3 separate regions of the Homo sapiens genome follow, and all the other regions are linked to region 2. The links are contacts of gene promoters, found by promoter capture Hi-C in blood cells and fetal thymus (Javierre and others, 2016). All regions are on one chromosome and are shown on one strand. Each heading gives the region's core, a stretch centred on a gene start or on the middle of the fragment in contact. The rest is flanking DNA. Distances are from core to core; before and after follow the strand shown.

The links. Contacts are between HindIII fragments. The CHiCAGO score rates a contact against its expected background, and 5 or more counts as called.
Region 1: a fragment that was not itself captured here is called in contact with the fragment with the promoter of KLHDC4 in region 2 in 8 of 17 cell types (naive CD8 T cells, total CD4 T cells, naive CD4 T cells and 5 more); the score reaches 18.6 in naive CD8 T cells.
Region 3: a contact is called between a fragment that was not itself captured here and the fragment with the promoter of KLHDC4 in region 2, in 3 of 17 cell types (naive CD8 T cells, total CD4 T cells and naive CD4 T cells). The highest score is 14.1, in naive CD8 T cells.

The regions. Positions count from the first base shown.
Region 1 is chr16:86,550,581-86,555,625 of GRCh38, reverse strand. MTHFSD (methenyltetrahydrofolate synthetase domain containing) reads left to right here and starts at 391. Exons shown (of 8, transcript NM_001159377.2): 1 at 391-457; 2 at 875-981; 3 at 3,480-3,593. The coding sequence starts at 442. FLJ30679 (a long non-coding RNA gene) reads right to left here and starts at 306. Exons shown (of 1, transcript NR_026674.1): 1 at 1-306. RefSeq lists enhancers at 109-398, 439-488, 1,457-2,119, 2,120-2,784 and a silencer at 321-534. The HindIII fragment of the contact is 4,750 bases long and covers 1-3,969 here.
Region 2 is chr16:87,764,149-87,768,903 of GRCh38, reverse strand. KLHDC4 (kelch domain containing 4) reads left to right here and starts at 2,918. Exons shown (of 12, transcript NM_017566.4): 1 at 2,918-3,112. The coding sequence starts at 3,014. LOC105371399 (a long non-coding RNA gene) reads right to left here and starts at 2,863. Exons shown (of 3, transcript XR_933871.3): 1 at 2,563-2,863. LOC102724467 (a long non-coding RNA gene) reads left to right here. Exons shown (of 4, transcript NR_120309.1): 4 at 2,480-2,573. RefSeq lists enhancers at 2,823-2,882, 2,963-3,022, 3,006-3,630. The HindIII fragment of the contact is 5,415 bases long and covers 1-4,755 here.
Region 3 is chr16:86,567,655-86,572,196 of GRCh38, reverse strand. It overlaps FOXC2 (forkhead box C2), which reads right to left. Exons shown (of 1, transcript NM_005251.3): 1 at 2,469-4,542. The coding sequence ends at 3,356. FOXC2-AS1 (FOXC2 antisense RNA 1) reads left to right here and starts at 4,436. Exons shown (of 2, transcript NR_125795.1): 1 at 4,436-4,542. RefSeq lists enhancers at 1,355-1,856, 4,065-4,542. The HindIII fragment of the contact is 964 bases long and covers 1,600-2,563 here.

The sequences.
Region 1 (5,045 bases), core at 345-2,844, 1.2 Mb after region 2:
GCCGGCTGAATCCGCTGCACACCCACGTGTGAGCACCTGAGAGTCTGCAGGATCTCAGAGGAGGGAACCGCGTCCTACATGAGGAGCAATCAAGGCCGGCTTTCCGGAGGAGGCGGCCTCTAGGACTGGAAGAGGAGGCGGGATGTGTTTCAACCGGCAATGGGTCCCGAGAGACCAGGGACTTGTTCACTTCAGTAACTCCAGGGCTTGGCAAAACGCCTGTCACGGGCGGCGCTCGACAATGACTAGCTGAAAGCAAGAGCGAAGGGCCTGGGAGCATCCCTGACTGTCCCCGGCGCGGATTTTACCCGCCCGAGCATGCGCGCCTGGGCCTCGCCCGCTCAGCCTCCGCCCCTCCTACCATCGCGCAGGCGCGGAGCGGGTGACGTCACTACGCGCCAGAACCTGCGCCGGGAAGCGTCGCACAGCGACTGCATCACCATGGAGCCGAGGGCAGGTGGGGGGCCTGGCGGGGCTCCGGGGCGGCTGGGAATGGGGAGGGACAGCCGGGACCGGTGAGGGTCGAGGCGGGGCCACCGGGGCTGGCAGAGGATGGGGCAGAATCACCGGAAGCGGCCGAGGAGGTCAGAGGGGGTCTGTGCTGGGTTCGGGTCGAACCAGCGGCTCTCTCGCCCGGAATCCCGAGAAAGATGTCAGGAAAAATAAAGATAACGAGAAGACGAGGCGGGAGGGACACCTGCCGTGCACGTGGGGGAGCCCGTGGGCCCCTTGAGGTCGGGGAAACTGAGGCTCAGGAACAGGATCGGAAGCCGGTTTGACCTACACGCGGGGGTCGCTTAACTACTGTTAAGCGGTTTCAGCATGGGCTCTGGAATTCCTTTGTATGTTATTAAGTGGGAATCTTTTGTTGCAGTAGGTGTCTCCAAACAGGACATACGTGAACAAATTTGGGGCTACATGGAATCACAAAATTTAGCTGACTTTCCCCGACCTGTTCATCACAGGATACCCAACTTTAAGGTACTGACATATTTCTGGAGTCCAGAAAAGGAAAACAAAATATTCTTAAATGAATAACACTAGTAATAAAATTCTCTTACTGCGTCATGGTGGATGAGAATGTGGCGAGCAGTGAGCAGTGGTGTGAAATCAAAGCCATTTGGCCAGGGCGTCCTTAGCATTTAGAGACGTCATTTACTCTTCACCTGGGGCCTCTTGCGTCTCTGTGCAGGGTGGTTTGGTTGTCTCTAGGTGAGGTTGTGTCCAGAATTGGTGGGTTCTTGGTCTCACTGACTTCAAGAATGAAGCCTCGCAGTGAGTGTTACAGTTTTTAAAGGCAGCGTGTCTGGAGTTTGTTCCTTCTGATGTTTGGATGTGTTCAGAGTTTCTTCCTTCTGGTGGGTTCACGGTCTTTGCTGGCTTCAGGAGTGAAGCTGCAGACCTTAGCAGAGAGTGTTGCAGCTCACAAAGGCAGGGTGGACTCAAAGAATGAGCAGCAGCAAGATTTATTGCAAAGAACAAACCTTCCACAATGTGGAAGGGGATTGGAGAGGGTTGTTGCTGCTGGTTCAGGCAGCCTGCTTTTAATCTCTTATCTGGCCCCACCCACATCCTGCTGATTGGTCCATTTTACAGAGAGCCGATTGGTCCGTTTTGACAGGATGCTGATTGGTGCGTTTACAATCCCTGAGCTAGACACAAAAGTTCTCCACCTCCCCACTAGATTAGCTACATACAGAGTGCCCATTGGTGCATTCACAAACTCTGAGCTAGACACAGGGTGCTGATTGGTGTGTTTACAATCCCTTAGCTAGACATAAAGATTCTCCAAGTCCCCACCAGCCTCAGGAGCCCAGCTGACTTCACCCAGCAGATCCCGCACTGGGGCTGCAGGTGGAGCTGCCTGCCAGTCCCGTGCAGTGCACCCGCACTCCTCAGCCGTTGGGCAGTGGATGGCACCAGGCACCGTGGAGCAGGAGCGTCGCTCCTCGGGGAGGCTCTAGCTGCACAGGAGCCCGCCGGTGGGGGTGGGGAGGCTCAGGCATGGCAGGCTGCAGGTCTTGGGGAGGCAGCTAAGGCCCGGCGAGAAATAGAGCACAGCAGCTGGTGGCCCAGGTGCTAAGCCCCTCACTGCCCAGGGCCAGCCGCTGTGAGTGCGGGGCTCCCCACGCCTACATGGAACTCGCGCTGGCCCACAAGCACCATGCACAGCAGCAGTTCCCGCCCGCGCCTCTCCCTCCACACCGCCCAGCAAGCTGAGGGAGCCGGCCTGGGCCAGTCCAGAAAGGGGCTCCCACAGTGCAGCTGCGGGATGAAGGGCTCCTCAAGCACGGCCAGAGTAGGCGCCAAGGCCGAGGAGGCGCCGAGAGGGACCGAGGGCTGCCAGCACGCTGTCACCTTTCAAGGTGGTGCTAGTTGCTGTTTTCTGTTTGATACAAAGTAAAATATTTATCCTGGCCGGAAGCATGTTATTGTCGTAATGGCTTTTCACAAAATTGACCCTGCTAAGAGCGTTAGGGAATGAAGGGGTACTGAACTGGAAGTTCAGGCTCTAGGCCTTTGGAAAGAAATGAATGCCTTGCCAGCCTAAGGATGCTGGGCCTCAGTTTCCCAGCTGATCAAAATGTAAGACAATCAAAGATGGCTGTTCCTAACAGTGTTGACAGAAAAAAAAAAGGTTACTCGGAAGAGGCAATGCAGCAGTTCATCATCTTTGACATGCCTATTTTCCAAGAGCAAAAGAAAGCGCTTTTCAAAAATGCTCTCTGCCCTGAAGGACTTAGCTGTTGGCTTGCTTCACCCCATTTTGTCAGGACTGCCTCTCCCCAAGCCTGGCTTCTCCACAACAAGCTCCACCTTCCCTGGTCCTCAGCTGAGGTGGTTCCAAGACTGTCCTGTCCCTTTGAAAAACTGATCTTTTGATGGTTTTTTGTTGTTACTGTGTTTTGTTTTAATGCTTCTGACCCCAGAGAGAGAAATGTATCTTAACAGAGGTAAAGATGAAGGATGTAGAGAATCATGTAGAAATCTTTAAAAAACGAATCAAACAGGAGAGAGGTGGGGGCTTCCAGGTCATGCTACTGCTTGATTTTGGTGGTGGTTACACAGCAGCCTTCATTTTGTGAAAAATCATCAAATTTTGCCCTTGGGATTTGTATTCTTTTTGGAATGCATGTTTCATTTCAGTTAAAGCTCAAGTGGGATTAGGCTACTTTTCTCAAATCCCTTTCCTTACTTAGACTGCTTCCTTAGATGTTTCTTTGGGTGACTGTTAGTGCCTGTCTGGGTGAGATTCTGGGCCGAGCTGCTTGGGCTGCAGTTGGCCTGAGAGCGTGCTGTCCTTTCAGTAACGTGCGATTGCATTGGAAACAGGGCGCTTCTCATGCTGCCGAGCAACTCCCACGCTTGCAGGCGTTCAAAACGGCCAGGACCATTAAAGTAAATCCTGATGCCCCCCAGAAAAGTGCTCGCTTCTTCGTCCTTGAAGTAAGTGCAACTCTGTCTATTTGCCTAACTAGGGGTCTTATCTGGCTTGCCAAAACATCAAAGACCTAGACGTTTTTGCCAGAACACAGGAAGTTAAAGTGGACCCTGATAAACCACTGGAAGGCGTTCGGCTGCTGGTGCTGCAGGTAATTCCACTTCCCTGAGCCGAGCCGAGACCTGGCCGCCAAGGGGGACACCTTTTCCAGGTAGCTGGTCAGTGCACACGTCTGTCTTGCATTTAGAAAGTCGGTGCTTCCGATTCCCTCCAATACAGAAAGTGCCCTTGGTGGTGATTTTTCCAAGAATAGTTCAGAAGCCCTTCAGCTGTTTAGCAATTCAGTCAATCAGGAGTCCCGAATGCTTCTAAATTCAGAGATAAAGGATGTTCAAAACAATGGCTTCCAGGCCCAGTTGGCACAGGAGAGGGAACCCAGGCAGAACCTGTGGTGTTCCAGAATTGAGGAGCTGGAGCTGAAATAGATGACACCACTTTGCCATTTGAAATGAGCATGCTAACAAGCTTGCTGAACACAGAATCATTTGCTTCTGGATGACAGACGGTCACTTGTCATGTTCTGATACTATAAAGACCACGGTTAAGAACTGGAAAGGTTTCTTCTCAACACTGCTGAACTTTTTAAATTCAGGCATGCTTTTGTAATTTTTATTTTTTAACTTCCTAACCAAACAAACACAAAAACTATGGCGTTGAAGCATTCTCAGTTTTGATGTGCTTCATCAGAGGAGGAAGATTACAAGGAAGATTTAGTTCTTTTTGCCACAGTTGTGGTATTATGATGCTTTGAAACATGATAAATCACGAGTAAGAAGTCTGATGTACCCTCAAAAGGTATCGGTTAGAGCACTTGTTCCTCAACTGAAAACATACAGGCCCCTTTTCAAGGAAAACCAGAAAACTCCCCCAGGGTTGATTTAAATTAGTTTATTATAAACTAATTCAATATGATAAACATAAAACTTGGTATAAATTTTAATGCAGATAGCTTTTATGTAACTATAAAACCAAAATAAGCATATAAGTTAAATACAAACAAAACTATAAAATCAGTAACATTCAAATGGCCCCATTAATTTAACGTAATGGTTGATATGGTTTTGCTGGAGCAAATCGCAGCTGATAACATGAGTATAGTACTGGCCATCTCAGGGCAGAATCGTTGTCATTCTGCCTTAACGCTGCCATGCGTTGTGTGCTGACTCCATTCTCCCACCCAAGTTGCCAAGTCAGACTCCTGAGAAGCCCTGGTGAGAGGGGCACTTTCCACACCTCTTGCCGGAGCTGAGAGGAGGGGTCCAGGCTCGTGTGGGAGATCATTTTGTCTGCTGATGGTGGTTCAGCCCCAAGAGAGACTTCCATGTAGGCTCTTCCAGAAGCATAGCTTCCTGTCAGCCTTATTTTCCCAGTTAATGAATCATTTTAATAAGCTAGAAGTAGTAATAGCAGCAGTAGCAAGGAAGGACGGCAGTCGGCAGTCACTGCATTCGAGGCGCAGTTCTGTCTAAATGTTTTCCCTGTATTATGTGGTTTGGTTCTCTACTACTATGGGAGCCATCTCTGCTCCTCTGTGACACTTGAA
Region 2 (4,755 bases), core at 1,669-4,168:
GACAGAACTATTTCCCGAGGGCAATAGTGAGGATTTAGCCTTTTGTAGTTCGTCATGGAAGATAAACATGCCTGGATGCCCAGGCTGGGTTTCTGTGAAATTCTCCAGCTCCTTTCTGCTCAGCTCCTAACCGGTTTTTTTTTTCTACCACCACATAGGTTTCCTACAAGCAGTGCTGGAGACCATGGTGGTCTTCAACCAGTGCTATCTTTTCTTCTCATTATTTCCCCAAATTTCATTTTTCTTCTTAAAGAGCTAGGTTTATGGATAAGGCTTGGAGTGGGTTGGAAAATCATTCCTCCTCAGCTGCTCAGTGACTAGTCATTGATTGGATCTAAGGTAACTTTTTTTGTTTTTGAGACAGAGTTTCGCTTTTGCTGCCCAGGCTGGAGTGCAATGGCGTGATCTGGGCTCACCGCAACCTTTCCTCCCGGTTCAAGCAATTCTCCTACCTCAGCCTCCTGAGTAGCTGGGATTAAAGGTGCACACCACCACACCTGGCTAATTTTTTTGTATTTTTGTAGAGACGGGGTTTCACCATGTTGGCCAGGCTGGTTTTGAACTCCTGACCTCGTGATCTGCCCACCTTGGCCTCCCAAAGTGCTGGGATTACAGATGTGAGCCACTACGCCTGGCCGAGTTAACTTCTTCTTTTTTTTTTTTTTTTTGAGACGGAGTCTAGCTCTGTTGCCCAGGCTGGAGTGCAGTGGTTCAGTCTCGGCTCACTGCAACCTCTGTCTCCCAGGCTCAAGCCATTCTCCTGACTCAGCCTCCCGAGTAGCTGGGATTACAGGTGCGCACCACCATGCCTGTCTAATTTTGTATTTTTAGTGGAGATGGGGTTTCACCATGTTGATCAGGCTGGTCTCAAACTCCTGACCTCAGGTGATCTGCCTGCCTCTGCCTCTCAAAGTGCTAGGATTACAGGCGTGAGCCATCACACCTGGCTGGATCTAAGATAACATCTTTTTTTTTTTTTTTTTTTGAGATGGAGTCTTGCTTTGTCGCCCAGGCTGGAGTGCAGTGGTGCAATCTCCGCTCACTGCAACCTCTGCCGCCTAGGTTCAAATGATTCTTTTGCCTCAGCCTCCTGAATAGTTGGGACTACAGGTGGGTGCCACCACACCTGGCTAATTTTTTTTTTTTTTTTTGTATTTTTAGTGGAGACAGGGTTTCACCATATTGGCCAGGCTGGTCTTGAACTCCTGACCTCGTGATCAGCCCGCTTCAGCCTCCCAAAGTGCTGGGATTACAGGAATGAACCACCACGCCTGGCCTAAGAGAACTTTTAAAGGCTGACTCACACACAAAGTAATAAACTAGATTATTTCCTGATTTATGCTTTCCCTTTGCCAAATTTTGGCTTGTCCTTGTCCTTAATTTGCCTTATTCCTTGATTACCCATCCAAAGATGACATCTTCTAAGTAGTGATAAGCATTTTTACTCTGCTCTTTCAAATCATAACATTCCATGCACTGCAGATGATTTTGCCATTTCTTACGTAATTTGAGGCAAATCCTAGAGTACAATTTCCTAGCAGGCATTTGGATATTACCTATCTTTATTTCTCAGGCTCCACAAATTGAGTACCCTTTCAGGGTGCTATCATTAGCTCTAGCCTACCTATGAAGAAACAAAAGTCCTCCATGTTAGGACATTTGAGGACATGCCCTTAGTACCTAACAGTGTCTGGCACATTTTAAATGGGAAGGTGGAAGGGCCCCCCCATTTTTTTTTTTTTTTAAGATGGAATTTTGCTCTTTTGCCCAAGCTGGAGTGAAGTGGCTTGATCTCAGCTCATTGCAACCTCTGCCCCCTGGGTTCAAGCAATTCTCCTGCCTCAGCCTCCCAAGTAGCTGGGATTACAGGTGCCCACCACCACGCCTGGCTAATTTTTGTAGTTTTAGTAGAGACGGGGGTTTCACCATGTTGGCTAGGCTGGTCTCGAACTCCTGACCTCGTGATCCACTCACCTCGGCCTCCCAAAGTGCTGGGATTACAGGCGTGAGCCACCGCGCCCGGCAGGGACTGTCTTACTCAGGATCTGCAAAATCTTATAACTGTGTGAAATTTTTTTTCTGGGAAAAAAGCACTCATTTGTTTGGTCTGAGGGGAAAAAATGGGGCTAGCCCAAGAGTCGCCCACTTAGTTCTACCCAGGGCGAAGCAATGTGCCTTAACGGGGGGCACGTGCACCCCGGAAAACTCAAGAGAAAATGAGCCGGGCGTGGTGGGCTCCTGTGGTCCCAGCTACTCCAGAGGCGGAGGTTACAGCGAGCCGAGATCGCGCTACCGCACTCCAGCCTGGGCGACAGAGCAAGACCCTGCCTCAAAAAAATAGAAATAAAAAATAAAACTCAGAGGGCACGTCTCCTAGGACACGGGGACAGGCTAGGTGGGGGCACAGGGCGTGAGAATTGGCGAGCATGGCCGGGGTATGTCAGGCCGGGGCTGCCATCTTTTTTGTTTTTTGAAACAGGATCTCGCTCTGTCGCCCAGGTTGGGGTGCAGGGGCGCATTGCTGCCTGGAACTCCTTGACTCAAGCGATCTTCCCGCCTCACCTTCCCGAGGAGCTAGGACCACTGGGCGCGAGACACCACGCCCGGTTAATTTTTTTTTTTTTCTTCTGTAGCGACTGGGGGTGGGGGGTGGTGTCTCGCTTTGTTGCCCAGGCTGATCTCGAACTCCTGGACTCAAGCGATCCGCCCGCCAAGGCCTCCCAAAGCTCCAGGGTTACAGGCATGAGCCACCGCGCCCAGCCCGGGGCCGGTCATCTTTTCCGGGGCCTTATGCAGAGTCCGAGGCCCCCGAGCCCGCTGCCGAAGACGGAGCTCCAAGACCGAACCTCGTAAAGGGCCCAGCCGCACCTCTACCCGGAAGCGGCTCGAACTCGGGGCCGGAAGTGACTCCATTTCTGTGCGCCGAGCTCCGCCCCACGAGCACCTGTTTCCGAGCGGAGAGCGCGGGCCGTTTTCTTTCCTGGTGTCCCGTCGCGGCTTGGGACCCGGCAAGATGGGCAAGAAGGGCAAGAAGGAGAAGAAGGGCCGCGGCGCGGAGAAGACGGCCGCCAAGATGGAGAAGAAGGTGTCTAAGCGCTCGCGGAAGGAGGAGGTGAGCGGGTCAGACCGGGCTTAGCGGCCCGACGTCGCGGCCGTGCAGCCTCGGCCGACTCCCTGCGCCCCCCGGGGTTACGGGTCGGCCGTGGGAGCCGCGCCGGCCCTGCGGGAGAGCTGGAGGCCGTAGGAACTGCCCCGGCGCCGCGTCCGGGCAGCCCAGACGGGGCCCGCCCCCTCCTGAGTCTCCACGTGTGTCTGTCCGCTTCTCGGAGCTGCCCCCTTTAACGTGCTTGCTTTTCTTAGTGTGGTGTCACGGGCGTTTTTCTGCGTTTCCTCCCCCTCCTCCCTTCTCCCTCCACCCTCCCTCTGAAGGGAGGCTGGGTGGTGAGAAGAGGGAGGGGTTTGGCACAGGAAGACCTGAGGTTGAGCCGGGGGCTGCCTCTGCATGATGTGTGGTCTGGGAGTAAGACTCTTAACTTTTCTGAACCTTACTTTTCTTTCAAAAGAGGGCAAATAATCATCACAGCAGCCCTGAGCAGTGAGCAGCAGATGGTTAAGTGAAGAAGGCACTGGAGCCACGGGGTATCCCGTAGCAGCTGATGGCGGCCATCACGGTTGTCTCCTTCCCTCTGGTCCTCAGCCCGGGGTCTGCAGGAGGATCCGTCCTGACCTTGGGGTTGAGTGTTCTGCGGCTGCTGCTCATGGATTCCCTAACCGGGGCCAGTTTTATGGCCTGCCGTGCGCCAGGCACAGCTCCCTGGGCTTTACTCCTCACGAGCAGGTCAGTTCCGTAGCACTGGTATTCCCATTTGACAGGAAGACCAACAGGTGAACCATGAAGTGGTATGGAACTGGGATGTGACCAGATGTCCTGAATCAGGAGCTCTTGACCACAGTCCTTTGTCCCTTTTCTTCCTAAGTCATTGATCTCTCCATGTCCTCATCTCTTAAATAATGGAGTTGGACTTTTCCCTCACACTCCTCTTAGGCTCTTTCTTTTTTTTTTTTTTTTTTTTGACAGAGTCTTGCTCTGTCACCTAGGCTGGGCTGCAGTGGCATGACCTGCTGGCTAGGGTTGTGGCACAGGAAGTCAGTTCATCTGTGTGGTATCTTCAGAATGGTGCTTGGCAGAAAGTAAGCACTCAGTAACCAGCTGTTAGCTGCTTTCTGCTTTTTTTTTTTTTTTTTTTTTTTTTTTTTGAAGGAGTTTCACTCTTGTTGCCCAGGGTGGAGTGCAATGGTGCGATCTCAGCTCACTGCACCTCCGCCTCCCAGGTTCAAGTGGTTCTCCTGCCTCAGCCTCCCAAGTAGCTGAGATTACAGGCATGCACCACCACACCCAGCTAATTTTGTATTTTTAATAGAGACCGGGTTTCACCGTTTTGGTCAGGCTGGTCTGGGACTCCTGACCTCAGGTGATGCGCTCGCCTCGGCCTCCCAAAGTGCTGGGATTACAAGCCGTAAGCCACCTTGCCCCGCCAGTTACCTGTCATTTTTACTCATCTCCATGTCTCCCTCCAGTACCCAATACTAAGGTGATTGTAACAGTAGCTTCCCTTAAGAGAGAGAGCCTGTCAGGCCTGGGGTTTGTATGTTATCTGAATGAACCCTCAAAACAAACTTTTAAAATAAGTGGGCGTCTGATTAGGCTAGACCCACAGAGGATCATCTCTTTCTTAAATTCAGCTGTGTCTGTAA
Region 3 (4,542 bases), core at 832-3,331, 1.2 Mb after region 2:
CGTTAAATCAATGGGAAGGTCTCTGCCATGGTGTTCGGGCACTTTCATTTTATTTGCCACACCTTTGTGATTAGCCCTGCGATATCTTCTTACTGGGTCAGGAAGGCACAGGGTTATCAGACAGACTTCGTGCAAACTGCATTTGCGTGGTCTGCAGAGCCGCCCCAGCCCAGAGTCCCTGCAGCCTGTGGCAGACACTCTGACCCTACCATCCTCAACCTCCTTCCACCTTTCCTTGAAAGGCCCAGAACCTCCTGAGGACCAGAAGGCAACAGGAAAAGGTGGTAGATGAGTGAATCAAGAATAGCCAATGCCCCGGGCACGTACTTTTTGTACACTGGGCAGCAGACGAGCAGGGTGGCTGCCAAGATGCAAAACTGTTGGTGAGAACGTTGGCTATTCACAGCACGTGCTGTGGAATCTTCCCACTCTGCTGGGAGAGCAACAGATGCCCCAGAGGCCATTAAGCCCCCAGGCCTGAGGTCCACACAGGCACTGCAGGACGCAGGGGTTGCAGAAGACAGGGGCTGCACAGAGCTCTGAGCCAGCTCACAGCACAAGGGGCCACCGGCCTTCTAGCACTTACCGCACCTATCCCTGTCCCCACTGAAACGAGGAAACCTTGAGTGACAGGGCCCTCAGATGAGTCCCAAAATCCCCAGGCCGCTACACACTAAGGGCCTGGTTCTCCACTCTGCTGCCGCCGAAGACCTGAATAAAGCTTCAGATACAATCCCCCCGTTGCCCACGTTCCCCAAGGAGTGGAAAAAACCCCTCCCGATAACCTCCACAAGGGCCACTCACTTGGGCTTCCGGCCCCCACACAGCAGGACTTCTTTAAAAAGGCTTCCTAAAGGTGCAAAAGCCCAGCTTAGTTTCAACAGCAGAGCTGGGGGCTCTCAGCCACACCGTCGCTCTCCTTTATTTTCCGTGTGTCTCTCAGGCCTCGCCACTAACAGGACACCAACGGTTTCAAAGCTTACGATGAGGGCAAGCTTTCAGAAAGATTTCTTTAAAACGTCTAGGGAAGGGAAAAAGCCAGCTCGCTTACCGTCTGGAATACTCTCCTCTTCTCCTGGGGCAAATAGCATGAAGCGAGCAGAAGTAAAATGAAACCATCACGGCAGACGCAGGCAAGGAGCTTGGGCCACCTTCTTCTGCAGCTTGGAGAGGGTCTCTCCCCACCCCTACCTCCTTAACTTCCTCCTCCTGTTCACTCAACCAAAGCCCGTCTGGCCTGGGGCCTGCTGAAAGTCTAGCACCCGGACACCCGGGAACCCGCACATTATGAAAAAGAATGAGACAGCCGCCAAGTCTTAACTGTGTGCCACCTCTGGGGCCACAGATTGAAAGAGTCTGTGTTGCACATGTGGGGAAAATTATTATGCTTTAAGCTTCCCCTAATTCTATTTCAACATAGCGTGGAGATAAAGTGCCATGTTGAAAACAACAAGAAAAACACCCGGGTTACGTTCAGCGCCACTGCATCAAGCAAAATCACCTTTAGCAAAATCATCTGGTCTTGAAACGTTAAGCTCACAAAGAACTTCAGCATTAGCAAGGTACAGCTCACCTGCTGGGGTGGGAATTGATGAAGCTTTGGTCCCCAAATTCACACATAGAGGCCAGCAGGGGAGTGGTGGACTTCAGCCATTGAAATAGATAATAAAGCCATTTCGTCAGCTACATTTCACAAAAACTATGTTACTATTAAAAATGTAAAAGACGAGATATTAACATTGAAAACAAAAAATAATCTCTATTATTTAACATATTGAAAAACTTGAATTTAGAACTCTAAAAATATCATAAATTATTTTTGAAGGGTAATGAGGTTTTAAAATTTTTCACTGCGATGAGGGTGTAGATTTAGACATGACATTGAGAAGTAATAAAGTCTGAAATTCCCCTCTGATCTGGCCGCTAAGGGGGATGGATATCAAACGCTAGAAAATCCGTCCCCTTCAGACCTTCATTGGCCCAGTTCAAATTCTCTGGAAAACTATTAAAGCAGGCAAAGAGGCTCAAATTTTATAAAATCGGGGGAAAGCAGGACTCACCCTGGGTTGCAGTTAGCAAACGGGAAATGTTTATTCTTCCCTTCCTTCACCTCCTAAACTGGGGACGGCTGGACACTGAGATGGAGTGGCACTGTTTGTTTTGACAATTAGCATGTTTTTGTGCATTTAAGAAAATGCATCACGGCAAACTCATGGTCCGGTCCTTCAGGCAGCCCCCTCCAACTGGGCGGTTTCTCGAAAAGAAAAAATCCTAGAGTGGGATTTTAAAATTAATCAAAAGCCTTTTTCTGTCACTAAACAAGACAGCAGGTGTGTGCTCCTATTCTCTGGTCGTTTTTATGTGTCTACACATATACCCACCTGTGTAACAAAAATAATCAAAGCAGGTGGGTTTGCAAACACACCTCGTTTGTAAAAAATGCAACAACACAAACACACTGTCCAAACTTTGGGCAGAAAAAACAACATGGGTTTATTTTAAGGTAAGTACAACGATTAAGACCACGTAAGACAAACACAGATGAAGTTAGAGTTTTTAAGCTTTTTTTTTTTTTTTCTTTTAGGAATACTCAGGGTGGAACCTACTATACAAAACCATCACACTTTGTAAATAAAAAGTATCAGATACTTGACTTCTTTATCCACCAACAAAAAAATAAATTATTTTCTTGTTTTGTAAAAGACCTACAATGGGAAAAAGAATTATATCTCATAATTGTACAGGAAACAAAACCCACATCGGTTTCTTGAATTCAATTTGGCAGTTAGAAATGGTTGGGCAAGATGAAAAACTTATCCAGTGAACTCAACTTTAAATATTATATTAATGGCTCTGAACAACAACAACAACAACAAAATAGCCTGATTACAAATCCACACATTTGTACAGCACGGTTGGAGAAATTTAAAATTACACACAGCACATATATTATCTATAGAGACCCCCATACACCTATGGGGACCCCTACAGAAAGTCACTAGGGGCTCGCTATGGGATTTGGTCCATAACTTAACTTTTGAAAGCTCAGGTCGAGCACAGCACAGCCGTCCTGGTAGGGGAGGGGGATTTTAAGATCAATACTCATTTTGTTGGGCTGCGTCCCTTTGGAGGGGTTTCCTGGGATCCCAGAAACGGGGCGGCGAATTAAAGTTACCTGCGCTCTTCACAGACGGCTGGGGGCTAGCGTGCCCGCTCTCTGCTCCCGGGTCTGAGAAAAGGTTGGTGGACATGTTTTGTTTCTTTTTTGCGTCTCTGCAGCCCCTTAATTGTCTGGTTGGGTCGGGGCTGGGAAGCGAAGCCGGAGCGGGCCGGGGAGGGGAGGTCCCGGGACACGTCAGTATTTCGTGCAGTCGTAGGAGTAGGGGGCTGCGTGGCGATAGAGAGGCGGCGTGGATCTGTAGGGCAGCTGGCAGCTGGCATTGCCACTCACCTGGGACTCCCCGAGGGTCGAGTTCTCAATCCCCAGCCGGTGGGAGTTGAACATCTCCCGCACGTTGGGGAAAGTTTGCTGCTGGGCCGCGAACGTGTGGCCGGGGAGGTGGTTCAGGTCCCCGCTGTGGTTGAGATACCAGGAGGCCGCCTGCGCCGCGGCGGCCCCGGGCTGCGGCGTCGGCTGGGGCTGGGGAGCCGGCGGGGGCGGCGGCGCCTGCGGGTGGTGGTGGCCGTGGTGCTGGTGGTGGTGGCCCGTGGCGGCGAGCGCGCCCTCCTGGCCGGCGGCGAGGTTGAGAGCGCTCAGGGGCGACGTGGGGCCGCTCGGGTGGTCCGAGAGGGCCTCGTCCAGGGCGGGCGGGACGCACATGTGCGCCGGCCGCTCGGCCCCGGTGTACAGGCTCATCGCTCGCATGCTGCACTGGTAGCCCCCGGCGGCCCCGGCCTCCAGGCCCTGAGCGCACGGCTGGCCGTAGGCGGCGGGCGGCGCGGCGGCGTAGGGCAGCGCCAGCGGCGGCACCACCAGGCCCGCGCGTCCGGCCCCCGGGCTCAGCTCTCCGCCCGGCGGCGACGTTCGCAGGGTCATGATGTTCTCCACGCTGAAGCCAGGCAGCCCGTTGGGCGCCGCGGCGTGGTGCTCCGGCAGCGAGCCGTCGGGGGAGCCGGCGGGCGTGGAGGCCGCGCTGCGCGGGCTGCCCTGCAGCGCGCTCTCGGGGCTCAGCGTCTCCACCTTGGTGATGACCGGCAGCGCCGGGGACGCCGCCTCGCTCTTGATCACCACCTTCTTCTCGGCCTCCTTGGGGGCGTCCGCTAGGTGGGGGGTGGCCGGGGCGCCCTTGGACGCCGCCGGGGGCGGCTCCTTGAGGTGGGCCCGCTCCTCCTTCTCCTTGGACACGTCCTTCTTTTTGAAGCGCCGCCGGCGCCGCAGGAAGCTGCCGTTCTCGAACATGTTGTAGGAGTCCGGGTCCAGGGTCCAGTAACTGCCCTTGCCGGGCTTCTTGTCGTCGCGGGGCACCTTGACGAAGCACTCGTTGAGCGAGAGGTTGTGGCGGATGCTGTTCTGCCAGCCCTGCTTGTTCTCCCGGTAGAAGG